3 separate regions of the Homo sapiens genome follow, and all the other regions are linked to region 2. Evidence: promoter capture Hi-C in human tissues and cell types (Jung and others, 2019). All regions are on one chromosome and are shown on one strand. Each heading gives the region's core, a stretch centred on a gene start or on the middle of the fragment in contact. The rest is flanking DNA. Distances are from core to core; before and after follow the strand shown.

What was found. Contacts are between HindIII fragments. The study calls those that stand out against the background at their distance.
Region 1: a contact is called between a fragment that was not itself captured here and the fragment with the promoter of PRKCQ in region 2, in 1 of the 25 tissues and cell types used here (hippocampus).
Region 3: a fragment that was not itself captured here is called in contact with the fragment with the promoter of PRKCQ in region 2 in 1 of the 25 tissues and cell types used here (H1 embryonic stem cells).

What each region holds. Positions count from the first base shown.
Region 1 is chr10:7,444,797-7,447,496 of GRCh38, forward strand. It overlaps LINC02642 (long intergenic non-protein coding RNA 2642), which reads right to left. Exons shown (of 4, transcript NR_184109.1): 4 at 1-996. Among named protein-coding and RNA genes, the nearest start is that of LINC02642, 27 kb to the right of the region's middle. RefSeq lists a silencer at 806-1,012 and enhancers at 885-984, 2,069-2,568. The HindIII fragment of the contact is 5,048 bases long and covers 1-2,700 here.
Region 2 is chr10:6,578,839-6,581,538 of GRCh38, forward strand. It overlaps PRKCQ (protein kinase C theta), which reads right to left and starts at 1,438. Exons shown (of 18, transcript NM_006257.5): 1 at 1,373-1,438. PRKCQ-AS1 (PRKCQ antisense RNA 1) reads left to right here and starts at 1,587. Exons shown (of 2, transcript NR_036503.1): 1 at 1,587-2,089. RefSeq lists silencers at 1,440-1,689, 1,700-1,849. The HindIII fragment of the contact is 11,498 bases long and covers 1-2,700 here.
Region 3 is chr10:7,389,580-7,392,279 of GRCh38, forward strand. All of the region lies in intron 1 of SFMBT2 (Scm like with four mbt domains 2), which reads right to left. Among named protein-coding and RNA genes, the nearest start is that of SFMBT2, 20 kb to the right of the region's middle. The HindIII fragment of the contact is 5,344 bases long and covers 1-2,700 here.

The DNA.
Region 1 (2,700 bases), core at 6-2,505, 870 kb after region 2:
TCTAAGGAGATGGTGCCTGAGCCCCATGCAGAACGCCATCCCTTCCTTTCCCCCCGATTTGTTTCTGCCTAATTGAACTCCCGCTGGCTGTGTTCCAGCACAGTTCTGTTTCACCTACTGATAAATGGTCGTTCACTTTCCAGTTTCAGAACTCAGCTAACCCCTGGAATGAACCACGGTTCATCTTCACGGTGTCCTCAGTGCAGAGCGCCGTGCATCAGACGATCGATGCGTATTCGCAGCAAATTGGCCATTCAGCAGTGCCGTGCAGGAACCTCGGAGGCACAGATACGGAACAGCTTTTCTGACAATGTCATGGCCTTCCCCAGACTCACTGGGGAACCTTATTTGAAGTTTTAAGAAAAAGAACTTGGACTTTCTTACAGCTTCTTGCTAAAGTTCAGGAGTTCTAAATGATTACCCCAGAGAACCCATCAGATAACTATGTCTCCAACTAAATGAATAAGATGAAATTTGACACAAAATAAATACAGGCACCTATCTGTCCATGGGTCATTTGGGGAAAACCAGAAACATGTATTTAATGCATGTCTCTGAACTTACATACTTCCAGTCATCAAAGTAACTAAAGCTTATAGAACAAGCAATTCCACGGATGATCTAAGCCCATCCTGCGCTGGACACCTCTGAGAAAGTGAATTAGCATTAGGATTATTGCAGAGAGATAAGAATCTAAGTAAGTCTAAAATGTGGAACATGCTGCTTATATTTAATTTTGTTTTGTATTTTCCTTTCTTCTCTTCTAATTAGGTGATTTTAGAGGAATAAACACCCTTAGCCGTCAGCCAACATTTTACAAATGAAGGCCAGCAAGGGAAAGGAGCTCACTGAAGGCCCATGCTCATTAATGAGGAAGCAAAAACAACAGCACACAGCCTCTGTTCCCAGGGCCACGCTCCTCGATTTCTAAGCGCTGTTCCAGTTCACACAGGACAAGACATCCTTTTTTCTTCTAGAACAACAGCTCAGCCCCACCTGAAAGAAAAAGTTCATTGATACTTTTTCAAAGGCTTCACAACTCAGCTTTTTTGGAGACTTCAGCAAAATAAGTCATTATCTGGCCAACTTTAAGAATGAGGTTTGCTAAATGTATCAGCATTCTGAGGTTATCAGAAGACTCTGCACACTTGCATATCTCACAAATACCGTCAATAAATACATAGTTTCATTTCCTCATTGATTCACACATTGCTTTTCCTATGTGAAATGCTTCATAACAGGCTCAATATGAATATTCAAAAAGAATGTGATGTGGTCTGCCATGAATATAAGTCAGTAAGTAATAAACATTGCTAAATGTCCTATTCCGTAACGTAGTGATAACCTACTCCCTCTATTTAGGAAAATCACATGGTCCTTGACTTCTTTTTGGAGGACAGAGTCTCACTCTCTCATCCAGGCTGGAGTGCAGTGGCACAATCCCAGTTCACTGTAGCCTCAACCTCCTGGGCTCAAGTGATCCTCCCATCTCAGCCTCTTGAGTAAATGTGACCACACGTACACACCATCACGCTCGGCATTTTTTTTTTTTTTTGTCTTGTAGAGACAGGGTCTTACCATGTTGTCCAGGCTGGTCTCAAACTCCTGGGCTCAAGTGATCCACCCACCTCAGCCTCCCAAAGTGCTAAGATTACAGGCATGAGCCATTGCACCTGAACAGTCCTTGATTTTTAAAAAATTCAAATAATAATACAGTTTAAAATGAAAAGCAAACCCCTTTTGTCTCAGAGTCCTAGTTCCACTCCTCAGCAGTTCCTGGTGTACCTTCCAGATACTGTCCCTGCGGACACACAATACAAATGGGGACACAGAAATCACATTATTCTATGTCTTGATTTGTATGCCTGGTGATACACCTCGACAATCTCTCTGTATCAGCACACACAGCTCTATTCGTTTCCTTCCAGTTCTGGAGCACTCCACTGGAATGACGTGCTATACATTTTGAACCAGCCTCGATTATGGATATTCGAGTTATTTTCAGTTACTGTTCTTGCTGTGGCAAACAATGCAGCAATGGCTTTGCTTTTACATACGTCTTTATGCGCATTTTCAGCATATCTGCAGAATAAATTCCTAAAACTGAAATTGCTGGATCAAAGGGCGTATTCATTTTCTAATTTCGTTAGATATCACCAAATAACACTCTATCTTAACACGAAACAAACACTTGCAAGGATGCTGTGCTAATTTACACTCTCATCTACCGTGCACTTGAGTGTTGGTTTCTCATGCCCTTGCTAGCACCTAACTTTGTCAAGGTGATTGGTAAAAAAACCGTGTCTCAGTTCCATTTGTAGTTCTTAATTGTCAGCATGTTAGAGCATCTTTTCATCTTGGAACTCTGTATATAATGATTTTTATGTTACCTACCTGCCTTTGTCCATTTGTTTTTTATTATTTATAAAAATCTCTTAATAGGTTTTATAAGATAATCTTTATCTTTTGCATTGCAAATTTTTTTCTCAGTTTGTCATATGGCTTTATTATGTTTTACCATATTCAAGTTTAATATATATATATTTTATTCATTTATTTATTTATTTATTTTTGAAATGGGGTCTCACTGTGTTGCCGAGGCTAGAGTGCAGTGGCACAATCTCGGCTCACTGCAACCTCCACCTTCTGGTTCAAGCGATTCTCCTGCCTCAGCTTCCAGAGTAACTGGGACTACAGGTG
Region 2 (2,700 bases), core at 188-2,687:
AGGGTTACCAAAGATAAGTTAGGGAAAATATGAAGATGATGATTCACAAGGTCGGGGTGTGGGGTGGGGTGGGGGACCCAGGACCTTAGGAATAGGGCTTGTCTATCACACAGCCTCGGGCAAGAAGGGCCCAGTGGGGACCATGGCTTCTAGGGAGCAAACCAAGGGAAAAGAGCAACGGAGTGGACCCTCCAGGCTTCTTGCCTCTCTCACGGAGCCTCACGAATCCCAGTGGTTTAGAATTTTCTTTGGCAAAAGAAAAGGTCAAAGAGGCCGGAGTTGACAGAAAGCATGGGCGGACTTCTCAGATCTTGTAGGTGGTTCTTAAAAGAATTCAGCAGGCTTGAGGTGTGCTCTCAAAGGGCAACTGGAACGTCAAGGACTTGGACACCAGGCACAGATGGTTCATTTCCCATGGACAGGAAGAGGGCACGGAGTGCTCCCTCTTCCCTCCACCTTCTCCAGCCTAGTCCCCCTCAGCCTGTGCCACTCCTGAATCATCTTTTATAGCACCACGTCCAGCCCGCACAGGGGCAGGACAGCCCAGGGAACAAGGCAGTCCTGTGGCGCTCTCCTTGCAGAAATGACCGGAGTCTCCCAATCCAGCCAGCCCGTGGACCTCTCTTCATGCCCACGGGGGAGTGCACACGCCTGTAGCATTCAACAGTCACTCTCCCATTGATAACGGTGGCTCTCGAAAATCCAATACCACAAAGATACTTTATTGCACAAACTTTGCTTGGTTAACCTGGCCCTCAAAGCTGGGGAATAACCTCACTTGAGGCTACAGGAATGAGCACGCAGATTTTTCTTTTTTTTTTTTTTTTGGTATCTTTCAAAGACCTGCCTCCCCCTCCCCCAGGCCCTTGACCAGAAACTTGGCTTGTTTAGAAGCCTGAGCAATGGCACCCCCGTCCGTGCTCCAATACATTCCCAGAAAAGGGGTTATGCTCCCCTGTGGACAGGATACCATCTCCAGAAAACATGTTTCCTCACGCATTTTTTTTTTTTTTTTTTACCAAGAATACAAAAACTTTCCACCTTCTTCCCTCCCCGCAGGCCCCCTTTCGTTCAGGTGAGAAGGAAAAGGGAGAAGAAAGGAGGAAGCGCCCCCAGGCCGGCGGCCCCCACCCGGCTAAGGTCGCCAGCATCCCGCATCCCGTGCGACCTGCGTCCCAGAAACCCAGCGGGGAAATTCTTCCCGGTGCGCTCTTGCGCCCGCTTGGTTCCATTTCCTACTCCGCCTGCTCACCCGGCAGCCCTCACCCCTTCCCGGAGGCTCTCCGAGGGGCCCGGGTAGCCCTTCTCGCCACGGGTCTCGGCCCCTCCAGCCCGCTCCCTCCCGGCGGCGGCGCGGGGCGCGGGGCCCTACCTGGAGCGAGCACGGCGCCGCTGCTGCCCGGTGGCGCTGGGACTGCGCGGGGACTGCGCGGGGACTGCGCGGGGACTGGCGGGGCTGGCGGGGCTGGCGGGGCTGGCGGGGCTGGCGGGCCCGGCGCACTGCGGGTGCGCCTAGAAGGCGGTGCCCGCCAGGGGGCGCTCGCCAGCCTCCCCGCCAGCCCGGCCTCCCGGGACCCGGCACCTCTAGCCAGGGACGCGCGCTCGGTCCCCCGCCGTGCGCCCCCGGTCCCGCGCCCAGGCTCCCGCCCCTGGCCTCCTTACCAGCCACTTGTCGCCCAGCTGCGAACTGGAGCGGGAGGCGGCGGCCGGAGGGCCCAGGACAGCCCCGGGAGGGCGGCGAGGCGGAGCAGGAGCGCCCCGGCTCCGGCCACATTCTCAGAGTCAGGAAAAGGGGCGAGAGGCCACATGTCTCCCTCTCGCCCAACTGAAAACGAAACGGCGCTCCAGCAGATTGGGTGGAAAGAGCTGGGTCTCTTTTCTCTGTTTTTCACGCTAGAAAGGGCTTGTAAACATTGTTCCTTTTAAAATGACCTACCCCAGGCATTTGTTTGGGCACACTTCTGTCCTGGGGTCATCGTTCCTAGGTGGCTTCGGACCTGGGACTTTTCCTGTATCTGCACATTGTCGTTTTATACACAATTGCCAAGGTGGGACTGCTTTCAACTTTACTGTGCTTGAAGCTGCAAAGGTAATGTTGCCGCCGTGCGTGTCATTTTAGGACTTTTTATGCCTTGCGGGTAATACTAATGATGGTCACAGGGAGGATAAACGGGGTGGTTTCTTTTTCTATACTCCATGTAACTAATTTCTCATTCAGGTTAGAAAATTATATGTCTGGTTACTAATATTCTTACTGAATGGTTTCCTTGCAATGATGACACCAAATAATTAAAACGTACTTGATTAAGACTTTTGTTGCTGTAGTGTACTAAGATCAGATTAATCTGAGAAGTAAAATAGTAATTTTTTGTCCTTTTTTCTTTTCTTGTTTTGAGAGAGACATTAAAAACGATTAAAACAAAACAAAACAGGCCAGGTGCGGTGGCTCATGCCTGTAATGCCAGCACTTTGGGAGGCTGAGGCGGGTGGATCGCTTGAGGCTGGGAGTTTGAGACCAGCCTGGCCAACATGGCAAAATCGTGTCTCTCCTAAAAATACAAAAATTAGCTGGGTGTTGTGGCACGTGCCAGTAATCCCAGCTACTCAGAAGGCTGAGGCAGGAGAATCGTTTGAACCTGGGAGGAGGAGGTTGCAGTGAGCTGAGATCTCACCACTGCACTGCAGTCTGGGTGACAGCAA
Region 3 (2,700 bases), core at 99-2,598, 810 kb after region 2:
TGTTGGACAACAGAATTCTAGTACTGGAACTTCTTACAAGAGTTGTCTTGGACCAGTGAAAAGAACAGAGAGCTTGCAGAATAAGGGAATAACAAGCTATGTGGCTGTGTGACATAAACAAATTACTTAACCTCTCTACTCCTTGAATTTCTCATCAGTTCAATCAGAAAGCTTGATGAGATGCAATCACCCCTTTCAAATCTAAAATTTTATCAATCCAGGTGTTATTATGATTCATTGTACATTTTCTGCATTCAGATTATCCCTTTATGTTTGAAGCAAATTTAATACAATAAGCATCCTCCCCTCTCAACCCTATCTTTCCTTCTCCTTTCACTTGAGGTATAGTCAAAGAATAGAGTAATGCTAGCACAGGCTAAGCAAAGCCTTGTTAGGAAGAACACGAGTGAGAAAGAACATGCATTAGATATTACTCTTCAACTAGCCAAACATAACTGGGGGCTCATTATCTATGTTGAATGCATCTAGACCAGCACTGCCTGATCTATATCTGCTTGGTCCAGTACAGTAACCACTAGCCACACGTTGGCTACAGTGCACTGGAAGCGTATCTAGTACTGTTGAGGACCTGAATTTTAATTTTAATGACCTTGAATTGAACTAGGCACATGTGGGTAGAAGGTGGGCAGCCCAGCAAGCCACTGCACTGGAGAGCCGTATTTGAGGGCTTGGAACATGTCCTAAACAACCATCAATTCTTGGCTGTCTTAAAAGTTTTAATGTAATAATGTCAAGCTAGTTAAAACTCATGAATTTTTAAATCTAAGAAACTTCAAAAGGAGACTTAACAGTTTCCCCCTAATATTCCACAAATGATTCACGGCAAACTTCCTAACACAGCATAGGTTTTTATTAAATCAGCTGCATTTTTATATCAATGGAAAATGTCAAAGGAGAAACATCTTAGAAACTATTACGTGTGTCATACAAAGACTATTTGCTTTTTTTCATTCATTTATAAATTCAGGAAAATCATTCCGCCTCAAAAATGTAGTCATGTACCAAGTTTTTCTATAAAGAAAAAAAAGTCCATGAATATGGCTATTAATAAATCAGTTAAATGTCAGTGGCTTATAGACACTTATTAAAAGGGGAAAAGTTTGCTCAAGTCTTATGACTCCTCATTACCCATTTGCCTCTAACTAGACACTACAGAACAGTAATCTGAGACTGTAAAATTTAAATGCATCAAATCAATCATTTTAAATAGAACTCAAGGCCTGGTGCGTTGGCTCATGCCGGTAATCCCAGCACTTTGGGAAGCTGAAGCAGAAGGATCACCTGAGGTCAGGAGTTCGAGACTAGCCTGACCAACATGGTGAAACCCCATCTCCACTAAAAATACAAAAATTAGCAGGGCTTGGTGGCACGTGTCTGTCATCCCAGCTACTTGAGAGGCTGAGGCAGGAGAATCACTTGAACCTGAGAGGCTAAGGTTGCAGTGAGCTGAGATCGCACCATTGCACTCCAGCCTGGGCAACAGAGTGAGACTCCGACTCACTCAGTCAATCAATCAATCAATCAATAAAACTGAAGAGTAATAATACAAAGACCAACAAGAAAGCCACTGAAAGAGTAGCACAGTGGCTGGGCGTGGTGGCTCACGCCTGTAATCCCAGCACTTTGGAAGCCCAAGGCGGGTGGATCACGAGGTCAGGAGTTTGAGACCAGCCTGACCAACATGGTGAAACCCTGTCTCTATTAAGAATAGAAAAATTAGCCGGGCATGGTGGCACGTGCGTATAATCCCAGCTACTCGGGAGGCTGAGGCAGGAGAATCGCTTGAACCCAGGAGGTGGAGGTTGTGGTGAGCCAAGATAGCGCTACTGCACTCCAGCCTGGGCAACAGAGCGAGACTCTGTCTCAAAAAAAAAAAAAAAAACAGTAGCAGAGTGAAAGCTCACATGACTCTGGAGGGCAATGGCCGTGCCACTGGAAGACTTCCCCCTACGTCCACCCAGGTGACTGCAAAATTGATTCACTTTGCAAACGATGTGTCCCACTTTGACTTTTTCAACAACATTTAGTTTTTTCCTTCCTATAAGAGATAGACATGCTCTTGGTAGAAATCTTGAAAAGTAAAATTATAAAGAAAGAAATTAAAATCACTTGTAATTCTAATACTCAGTGATAATCAATTTTATGTTTCTATAGTATCTCCTCCTGATAGTTTCTCTGTGGATTTTGTTGTTGTTGTTTAGTTCACAGAGAATTCGGAATTCCAATCCATTTTTTCATTTTGCATTACACAGAAGGAATTTCTCGCGTCATTAAGATTCTCTGAAAACATGACTTGAAATGGTTGGATAATTTTTATTATAAAATGAATAAGGTCATGTATTTACCATGCCTCTGCTGCCGCCCATTAAAGCTGTTTATATTATTTTTTCACCATGGTAAGTAGCACTCTAGTCACGACTCTCAGTCAGAAATCCTACATCTCTGATGTCTCCTTAATGTAGAATCCCAGAAGTTAAATTATAGGGTCAAAAATATGGGGACACAGTTGAGGCTCATGACCCCCCTGAAAACATGCTCTCAAGTCCGCTAAGCTGGTTTACTAGCAGGGCAGGAGAAAACATCTAAACCCTTTATACCTTTTCTTTATTTGACATTCAAAAAATAGTATCCTGCCTGGGTGCGGTGGCTCACGCCTGTAATCCCAACACTTTGGGAGGC